Linked DNA regions of Homo sapiens: regions 1 and 2 are each linked to region 3. Evidence: promoter capture Hi-C in 16 types of primary human blood cells and fetal thymus (Javierre and others, 2016). All regions are on one chromosome and are shown on one strand. The core of a region is centred on a gene start or on the middle of the fragment in contact, and the rest is flanking DNA. Distances in the headings are between cores, read along the strand shown.

The links. The method cuts DNA at HindIII sites, captures the fragments that hold promoters and counts their contacts. A CHiCAGO score of 5 or more calls a contact.
Region 1: a fragment that was not itself captured here is called in contact with the fragment with the promoter of IDNK in region 3 in 6 of 17 cell types (activated CD4 T cells, total CD8 T cells, total CD4 T cells and 3 more); the score reaches 11.3 in activated CD4 T cells.
Region 2: a contact is called between a fragment that was not itself captured here and the fragment with the promoter of IDNK in region 3, in 1 of 17 cell types (total CD8 T cells). The highest score is 5.2, in total CD8 T cells.

What each region holds. Positions count from the first base shown.
Region 1 is chr9:84,172,599-84,175,839 of GRCh38, reverse strand. No RefSeq gene overlaps it. Among named protein-coding and RNA genes, the nearest start is that of SLC28A3-AS1, 100 kb to the left of the region's middle. RefSeq lists an enhancer at 2,352-2,861. The HindIII fragment of the contact is 1,143 bases long and covers 1,234-2,376 here.
Region 2 is chr9:84,135,494-84,138,912 of GRCh38, reverse strand. No RefSeq gene overlaps it. Among named protein-coding and RNA genes, the nearest start is that of SLC28A3-AS1, 140 kb to the left of the region's middle. The HindIII fragment of the contact is 1,171 bases long and covers 1,319-2,489 here.
Region 3 is chr9:83,621,366-83,624,777 of GRCh38, reverse strand. It overlaps IDNK (IDNK gluconokinase), which reads right to left and starts at 1,635. Exons shown (of 5, transcript NM_001001551.4): 1 at 1,557-1,635. The coding sequence starts at 1,606. RefSeq lists enhancers at 1,031-1,080, 1,101-1,230 and a silencer at 1,411-1,940. The HindIII fragment of the contact is 10,566 bases long and covers 1-3,016 here.

The DNA.
Region 1 (3,241 bases), core at 556-3,055, 550 kb before region 3:
GCCGTCTACCTCAGTGACTTTCTCTCTCCAGCACTGCAGGATGAGAGGCCAAGGAAACACTGTCCTGAAACCATCCTCGCTCTTTTCAAGTGTTCTGCAGAGAGGGCACTCTGCCCCATCTTCTGCATTCCACCTGGGGCTGCGAGTCCCAGATGCCACTCTGTAAATATCAAGTGCCTCCTAATAACAAAACTCAAAATCTGGGAGGGCAGACAGACCACAAGGAGCAGGCTGACGAGCACTTTCTGAACCTCTTCAGTTTGTTTATGTCTCCAAGGCCTGCTTTTAGTCTCAGCCAATGTTCATGTAAAAACTTTCTCTCCACTGGAGATAATGATGCTTAAAAGACTCATGGCAGGAGGGACTCTGTGGGTGGAGCAGTCAAAAGAGCAGAGTTTTGGGGGTCAGAGAGACCCCAGTGAAAATCCTGGCTTTGCCCTTTAATAACTGCTTTGTCTGGTAAGTTTCATCTCTTCGCTCAAGTGGAGATGACACTGCCTTCTTCACAGGGCTGCAGCCACAATTACAGATGGCAGTGAAAAGGGCTTTGCTCATCAACTGGCCTAAAGGACTGTTTTTATGACAGATAAATCCCAAAACTTAATGTTACTTATTTCTAATCTCTTCTACTTTAGCCCTGGAGAAATGTTGCTGAAAAGGAACAAAACATCTGATTAGACTTTATTTCTTTTTTAAATCTTTCTTTCTCTATTTCAGACTTTAACTAATGGGAAAGTGGCCACAAGTATGTTGAACAGAAAAGGAGAGAGAACAAAGGGTTTCGATAACCCACAAACTATACCTGCTATTCTAGGTGGGCCGAATTTTGTCCAGCATCAAGTAGACAGATACTCAAAATGAAAAATATGCTTTATTTGTGGATGTCAGAAAAGATTTAATTAGAGGCAGCTTTAAAAACTGGGTGATTAGGGTCAAGCAATTTCATTGACACATTAAATAAGACTTACAGTTGAGTATCATGCCAAAGTTAACTACTTAGAACTACCAATATGTACGAAATCTGGGTAGATGAGACTGCTGGTATTACCCAATATCTATTCTCTTCTTCCACAGCAAGAGAATTTTTAGCTGAGCATATGAACTCCCAGAATAATAACTGCATTTCTTACCCTCTCTTGCAGATAGGTGTGGTCAAGTTATTAAGTTCTAGGCAAAGAAATGTAAGAGGAAGTGGTGTATGCAACATCACAGAAGTGTCCTTATAGGGAAGCTTCTTTTCCTCCTTTCTGCTGGCTGGAATGGGGACATGATGGCTTGAACTGGAGAAGCCATTCAATGTTCCCTGGTATTATGAATAATCACACCAGCCCCTAGACCATTTACTCAGACTTTCACATGAAAAAAATAAATTTCCATCTTTGTTCCACCACTCATTATTTTGGATTTTCTGTTGCTCACAGCTGATTCTAATCCTAATTCAGTCTGGGTGGCATGAATATACAATTGGCTGTGAATTGTTGAATTTCTTGATTTTTTTAATGCATCAAAATCAGGCATTAAAATGCATTGGCTTGGTTTTCTGTATTTGCTGTTTCTGCTATTAACAGAAGTCCTGCTTTATGAAGCAACAGGAACTGCCTTGGTTATTGTTTATATAAAATTTGCTTTGCATGTACAAAAATCTCATTTATCTTGCCATCTGATACTTGGTAGATTTGGGTGTTTAATGGATCTTTGTTACCAAATATTTTTTCACTCATTGTATACAGATGCTGCTCTTGGGCTATAGCCATCCTTCCTAACAAGCAAAAATCCTCAGAAGATATTTCCAGGTTTTTTTATTGAGGATGCGGGTGGTGATGGATAGCTCATCTCCCCGAAGTCATCCAGTAACCCAATTCTACAGACACTTTTTTTGTTGTTGTTGTTATTTGGATCAGGGCTCCATCTCCTCATTCCTCTCCTTTGTTTTATTTTTTGCTTTTTTGCAACAGAAACAGAGATCTGAATTACATTAATAAAATAGAAAAACAGAGTGTCTGCCTGTCCTCCCCCTCTCCCTCTCTTCCTTCCTTTTTTTTTTCCTCTCTCTCTCTCTCTCTTGACTTTGAGTGAAATATGCCTTTCTAAGACTAAGGCAAATGAACTTTTGGGAGGAAGAGGATCCAAATACATAAAACTTTGCATAATCTCTCAAGGGCTGGTGAGCCCCTGGGAGTCTTTTCAGGAACACTGAATTAAGGACCAGTGTCCTTGAGTTTATTCCAGAAAGCTGGAAGCGCTCCAGTTTACAGGTAACCTCAAGCTCTAATACAATTATCCCCCATTCACACTCTCCCTTTGTGATTTGTCAAATACCCGAATACCATTACTTTCCACTTCGGTTTAAATTGACTCACTTTTGAAACTTAAGCTTCACTAATATCCATGAAATCACAGATACGGTGTGCAATTTATATTTTTTCTAATACATGTTAAAACACATGGCCATTAAAATAAAAGTATGTGCCCATGTGCCATTGTTTTAGGTTGGGTTGAGACTAGGACTAGAGTACAAATCATCTATTTGAGAGGTGTTCCCAAGAAGCACCACTAGGGGGCCGGGGAAATAAGTGTGAAGAGAGGAAAGTCAATCCAGGGAGCATTACGGTCTTTGGGGTTGCATCCCTGCGGACCCCCTAAGAAAGCTGGAGAATGAGCCTCAGAGTTTTACCCACCATCTTCCCTTCGTCATTCTTTGAAAGCTACTCTCGTGGATGTGACCATTAACTCCTACCACTGCAGGCCCGCTGTGAAGGTGGGCAAGCCAGCTCCTGCAATCTGAGTTACAGACATTTGCAGTTAAGAAGCCGTCAGCACAGGCCGGGCCGGGCGCGGTGGCTCACGCCTGTAATCCCAACACTTTGGGAGGCCGAGGTGGGCGGATCACGAGGTCAAGAGATCAAGACCTTCCTGACCAACATGGTGAAACCCCGTCTCTACTAAAAATACAAAAAATTAGCTCGGCATGGTGGCGGGCGCCTGTAGTCCCAGCTACTCGAGAGGCTGAGGTAGGAGGATCGCTTGAACCCGGGAGGCGGAGATTGCAGTGAGCCGAGATTGCGCCACTGCACTCCAGCCTGGTGACAGAGCGAGACTCCGTCTCAAAAAACAAACAAACAAAAAACAGAAGCCATCAGCACAGCGAGGAACTGCAAGTGCCTAGGTAGTTTGCTTAGGGCACTAACCATATCTGCTTCAACTACCTAATACATCTTGCATCCCACCATTAGGATATATG
Region 2 (3,419 bases), core at 655-3,154, 510 kb before region 3:
ATTCATGTTCCAAATCTGAAAATGCATATGGTTCTATTTTAATGCTTCGATACAGCAAAAACACAAATACTTCAAACACCCTAAAGACAGCCTTTTACTAGTTTGGAGGCTGTTTCTGCATGAAAAGTTAGCACAGTCATGCATCGCTTAATGAAAGGCATGCATTCTAAGAAATGCATTGTTACGGAATTTTGTCATGTGCCAACATCATAGAGTGCACTTTTCCAAACCTAATTTTATAGCCAACTACACACGTAGGCTAGATGGTACAGCCTATTTCTCCTAGGCTACAAATCTGTACAGCATGGGACTGTACTGCATACTGGAGGCAACTGTAACACAATGGTAAGTATTTGTGTATCTAAACATAGAAAAGGTACAGTAAACACATGGTGTTATAATCTTATGGGACTATATTATAATCTTATGGGAACATCATATATGTAGTCTATCAGTGACTAAAATGTTGTTATGTGGTGCATGACAGTATTGCAATTATGTGTCTTACTAAGGGGGTAGTCAAGGCTCAGAGACTGACCCAGCTGCTTTCCTAAAGGCTACTCAGGACAAGGGCTTTGTTATTAGACAGTGCTATTAGACTGGATGTACTTTCCCCAGATTGCTCAAGCTTTCATCCATAGTAAGTGATTATACACTGGGCTCCTTTGAGTTTAGGTACATGGAATGATGTCATGTCCTTGGCACAAGATAGCGCTGTCCTCCTGCAAGAGTTCACACCAGCTTGCAGTGGGGTAAAGTGGGGGCAGCAGAGGGAAGGAACTCAAGGACCTCAGAGACCTTTGGGCCCACACTTTTCAGAAGCCTTCTGAAATGGCAGAGCAAGTCAGGACCTGCCAAGGTATGATTCAGAATTGCAGCACCCCAAAGCTAGCAAGAAACTTGTAGGTCACTAACTCACCCCAGCCCATCCCCCGAAGCCCAGTAAGGGCTATACAGTTGGGTAAAGGCAGGACCTGGGCTAAAACTCAGGTATGTTCTTTTTTAAAGAGATAGATCTGGCTATGCTGGCAGGCTGGAGTGCAATGGCTATTCTCATGTACACTCAGGGCTCACTGCAGCCTCAAATTCCTAAGCTCAAGCAATCCTCCCAACTGAGCCTCCCGAGTAGCTGAGACTACAGGCACGCACCACCACACCTGGCTAAACTCAAGTATCTTGACTGCCAGATTGGCAGCCTGTCTCTTACAGCAGTGCTTCTCCAACTTTAACATGTGTATGAATCACCTGGGGAGCTTATTAAATGTAATTCTGATTCAGATCGAGGGTAGGGTACGAAATTTTGCATTTTGAATAAGCTTCCTGTGATGCCAGTGTTGCTAGTGGAGGACTAATTCTCTGAGAAGCACATTATTACATCTCCATTCTTAACATTTCTCAATCACAGAAAAATCCAGAAAACAGTCCCTCCTGCACTGCCTGGGATCTGAAGAAAGACAGTCATTTTCTTAATCTCTTTTTATTATTATTATTATCAAATTGACTTCAAACAATTAAGTCCCAGCCTTCTCCACTGGAGAGGTCCCTGAATTTCTGCCTAGCCACTTAGTGGGAAGGGAAAGAAAACTGTAAGACTAATATTCCCATCCTTTCTATCAGGTGAGTTTCCATCTAAAGCAGCAGCTCTCCAAGTGTCATCCACAGACCAACAGCTTCACCCAGACTCTTGGTAGAAATGCAAATTTTAAAACTCTAGGAGTGAGTCCCAGAAAGATGTGTTTTAACAAACCTCTCCAGGTGATACAGATACAGTCTCAAGTCCAAGAATCAGTGAGGTAAGACTCATAGCCAAGAGCAGCCAATCAGTGCTTGCAGCTCTGTATCAAGGAAGGGGATTGTATCCAAAAAGTGCTCGCAAAACAATCATCCTCCAGCTCCAGGACATGGACCACTTTGGAGCAAAGAATTGTATATAATCATAACCCAAACCAATGAGTCTGCATGATTATGTGGCCCACCCATGGTGTCTCTCTTCATTGAACTCAAAGATTCCCGAAGCATCAAAAAAGACACTCAAATTTGCTCCCTCAAGGGTTCCTGTCCTTCAGGAAGTACAACCGTAGTGTCCTTGGAACCACGTGTGTGGTCATAGCCCTCTCTGCCTCACACCCCTGGGTGGAGTGCTTTATATACCTGGCTCTCTCCACCAGATAAGATGACAGCTTCTTGCCATGTTCATCTGTGTGTGTGTGTACACGTGTACCCGTGTGTATGTGCCCGTGTGCCCGTGTGTGTAAACTCCTCAACTATATGTTCTTGGAACAGACACCATCTCAAGCTCCATCCTGTCAAACAGGCTGGGACACCAGCAGGTGAAGCTGATGCAGCCGACCTGTGTTCTGCCATGGTAATATTATGGAAATCCTGTAAATATAATCCCACACCTTCTACCGTCTATGCACCTCCCTCATTTTTTAAAATGAGAAACAATAAGAAAACCTCGTGAAAATGTTTGCTGTAACTTTTAAGCTTAATAAGCCCAGCCCTAATAGAACATTCGCTTCTTTGTCTGGCATATAAAGTTGTGATTCATCTGTACGCAATTCCACCTTGTTTGTTATACTGTTGCCATGACAACATTTTTCAAGTACCAAGTAAATTGTGGAAGAGCACATACAAACAGCACACTCCTATAGGTAAATACTTCATTACTATCTGCACACACATTTCATTCACTGCATCCGCTCTCTCCTATCTCAATAAACGCAGCTCTATTTACATCCAGTTTTTGAATTCTTTCCTCCCAAGGATATGTGAAAGCTTTGCTCCACCTGAAAAAGTCTAAATCAAAGACGATTTGGGTTTGAATATTTTAAAATATTTTTCTTTTTCCACAGTTATTCTGGAGGGGCTATCGACACAACAGAAGTTTTAAATATCAAACCAAGAAGTTAATATCCAAAGTTCTCTCCAACCCAAAGAGCAGACATTTCTGCCTTCCATCTCCATGCAAACCGCACAACACCCAGACACCAGTGGTGGACTTTGAGAGTTGACATCCTAGTAGTTTACATGCTTGTTGGGCATTTGTGTACTTATAGCCATACGAGCTCTAAGCCCCAAGTGGCCAGGATGTCTGTATCATATCTTGAGATGTGCTTAGATACAGATCTGTATCTCATCTTCACCTCTCCCATATCAACCAATGCAATGGTTCCATGGATAGATGCATTGGAATCATTTGGGAGCTTTCAAAAGTAGATTCCTGGGTGCCATACCTGGGAACTACGTTCTGAGTAGGTCTATAAAATGGCCATAAAAATTGTCCTTACTCAGAGGACTGTTGTGAGAATTATATGAGATCAAAAATGCACATAAGGCTGGGCGCCGTGGCTCACGCCTATAATCCCAGCACTTTGGGAGGCCGAGGCGGGCAGATCAAGAGGTCAAGAGATCAAGAC
Region 3 (3,412 bases), core at 386-2,885:
TGCACCACTGCACTCCAGCCTGGGCAACAGGAGTGAAGCTCCGCCTCAAACAAAACAAAACAAAAAAAAAACAAAAGAAGCTAAGCCTCAGAACCATTGCACCTGCCATTCCCTCTGCCTGTCCTGCCCTTTCCTCAGCTATCCACATGGCAGGTTCCTCAAGTCTTGCAGGTCTTTGCTGAAACGCCACTCCCCCAGAGGAGACATCCCTGACCACTCTGCCTGGCACTCTTTGTTCCCCTTACTCCAGAGCATCTATCACCAACTCACACACTACATATATTCATTTACTCTGTCTCCCATACCAGAATGTAAATCCTTTGAGGGCAGGGATTTTATCTGTCCTGTTCGCTATATGACAATGACATAGAGTAAGGATTGAGCTCAATAATTACTGAGTACATGAATATCACAAGCTATACATCATAGGGATTAGGCCTCCCTCATCTGATTCAAGACTCAGAGGGGGTACATGAACTGCCCAGGCTCACACAGCCAGACAGCAACAGAACCAAGACCTAGGGCTCTTCACTCCTGTTACATCACACCATGGCAATGATTTTACATTCTCCAACTGATTCAAATCATATGGCAGCTAGGGATTTGGGGGCTCCATGTTTTATTTCAATTGCAGTTCAAGATTTCTTTTTATCTTTGTGGCTGAGAACCCTACAATAATTTTGGAAAGCAAAACCCATCTACCTGGAGTAAATCTTTAATATACACCTGACTACACAGGCCACAACATGGGCCGTTCCTGATTCAGAAAATTCTAGAAGGGTCCTATAGGCCCTTGAAGGTTATGATGTTTTAGCTGATCAAGTTCTGTCCTTTGCTGCCTGTGGTCGAATGGTACAGCAGCTGTCTTTTCTGATAAAGGGCACAGTTAGACTTTGGTTTAAACAGGAAGCCAAATGTTAACTCCTCAGTCTCCAGGTTAGCACACTGGGCTACCTCTGTGGTTTCCACAATTCTCTTCTTTCTTTCCAAACCCTCAGGAGCCACCCTCCATATTAACGCTGTCTCCTTCCAGGTTAAGCTGATGAAAGGAAGGGGAAAACGATTCACTTTCCAAAATTGAATCGGAGAAGTCCAGGGCCTCATAGGAGGAGGCCGCTGTGTGTCCAGATGGCCAAAGGTCTGTGAGAGCCTGGGCCGTGGTTTGCGTCCTCTCGCTAGAGGCCGTGCGCCCTCCCGCCTGGCCCCGACAAGGCGCCCCGAAACCTAGCCCCGCGCCGCTCGCTAGGCCTCCACCTGCGCGGCCCCGCAGCCGCCTGTTCAGGAGCGGCTTCCTCCCTGAGCCTGCGGTCGCCGCAGCCTCCCCGTCTTAGAGCGGGAACCCGGAGCTCGGATGCGGTCCCAGGATGGGCGCCCCGCGAGCAGGCTGGAGGGCGGGGAGAGGGCGCGGCAGCCGCGGGCCTCGGTTTCTTCATCTGCAAAGGGAAGGGTGGGGGGTCCCCAAGACCCCAGTCCACCGGCAGGGACGGCGACGCGTCCGGCCTCCGCCGCGCCCGCAACACTTGTCCCGGGCGCCCCCCGCCCTCTCCCGGACCTACTTCCCCGAGCCGCTCACGCCCATCACCAGCAGCGCGCCCGGCGCCGCCATAACCCAAGCTCGGCTCCTTCCCGTCGCCTTCCGGGCCCCGCCGGCCCCGGCCTACCCGGCGCTCGAGGGGCGGAGCCGCTCTCGCCCCGGCCGGGGCAGTGAGGGCCGTGCCCCTCTGCGCCCTCCCCGTTTTCCCGCGCCCCTTTTCCATGCTTTCCTCCTCCCTTTCCCAACCTCCCGGCCTCTCTCTCCTGCCCCTTCTTTTCCTCTCCCCTCCCCTCCCTCTTTCCTCTTCCCGGAAGTGAAGCGCGCGCCCGGCCTGGCACTCGCGTCTCCCTGGGCTGGAGGGAGCCGCCCAAAGCCCCGCCACCTGTCGTTCTACTGCCCCGGCCCCTCTTGGTTCCAGAGGATCCTCACCCTGGCAGGCCGGATCCTCATCCACCCATGGAAAGCATTCATTCATTCATTTATAAAAATGTTCTTGTAAAAAGAATAAACAGAAAATAAGACTCATAATTTCCCACACCAGGCAGCAATAAGCAGCACTTCCTAAAACGACTCCCCTTTCCCCGCGCCCCGTCGTAGATAGATGGGTATGAGTATTTTGTAAAACTGGGATCAGGCCGTACACAGCGTTTTGTAATCTGGCCTTTTGTCACAATAATAAATGGCGGCCATCTTTTGGTGTCAAACTTAGGGTTGAGTGTTGACCGTAGCAGCATATGTCTTGGCTGTATGGCTCTGCTGTTAAATCCAGCACTGGTTGGGGCTTTAAGAGGAAGGAGCACCACTTTAAAGTGTCCATTTGCTTTAAAACAATGTTAATTATGTGTCGTTTGAACTATTTGATTAAAAGCACTTCTTTTTTTTTTTGAGACGGAGTCTCGCTCTGTCGCCCAGGTGGGACTGCGGACTGCAGTGGCGCAATCTCGGCTCACTGCAAGCTCCGCTTCCCGGGTTCACGCCATTCTCCTGCCTCAGCCTCCCGAGTAGCTGGGACTACAGGCGCCCGCCACCGCGCCCGGCTAATTTTTTTTGTATTTTTAGTAGAGACGGGGTTTCACCTTGTTAGCCAGGATGGTCTCGATCTCCTGACCTCATGATCCACCCGCCTCGGCCTCCCAAAGTGATTAAAAGCACTTCTAACCGCATTTGGCATCACCTCCTTTGGTCTTTTGTTAACCAAGGTAGGTATTACTCTGTGTCCTAGAAAACAATAAAAGTGACATAAAAGCATTTATCTAATGAATAGTTCAATTACCCCTGCACTGCCTTTGTTTTTCATATACTTAGCCCGAGTAGGTGAGATTTCAATCTGGATGGGGGCTGTACAGGTGAAGAAATTGAGGCTTGGAGAGAGGTCTTACAATTCAGTTATGGTCAATACACATTTCTTGAACATCTACCATGTGCTGGTTAATATCATATTAATATTCATTTAAAAGATTACCCTCTAGGCATTCTCAAGCTTGATAAGAGGAATAGATGTGTATGCAAATACTCTTAACTCGTGCCCTGCTTCGCTAGCTCAGTATGAAAAAAAAAAGCTCATATTTCTTTCAATGTTCAAATCAGAATGATTAGCAGAAAATCTGATTCTTCTCCTTGGATTTCTTTCCCCAGACATGTCCAAGGATCTTAAACTTGCTGTGCTGCTCAGGGTGGTGGCAGGAAACAGCATGCTCAAATTGGGGCAGGTGAACAGGATTTAACAAAGGGACTATTAGCACAGGTGTGGGTAGGGTCAGAAAAAGCAACTAGGGGCAGAGTCCACATCTGAGTAACCGAGAAGTGTTTTCACTCTTAAATAGAAAGGGGCTGATGAGAGGGAGCCTTTATATGGGAAGGGAAGAGAATGGAAGGAGA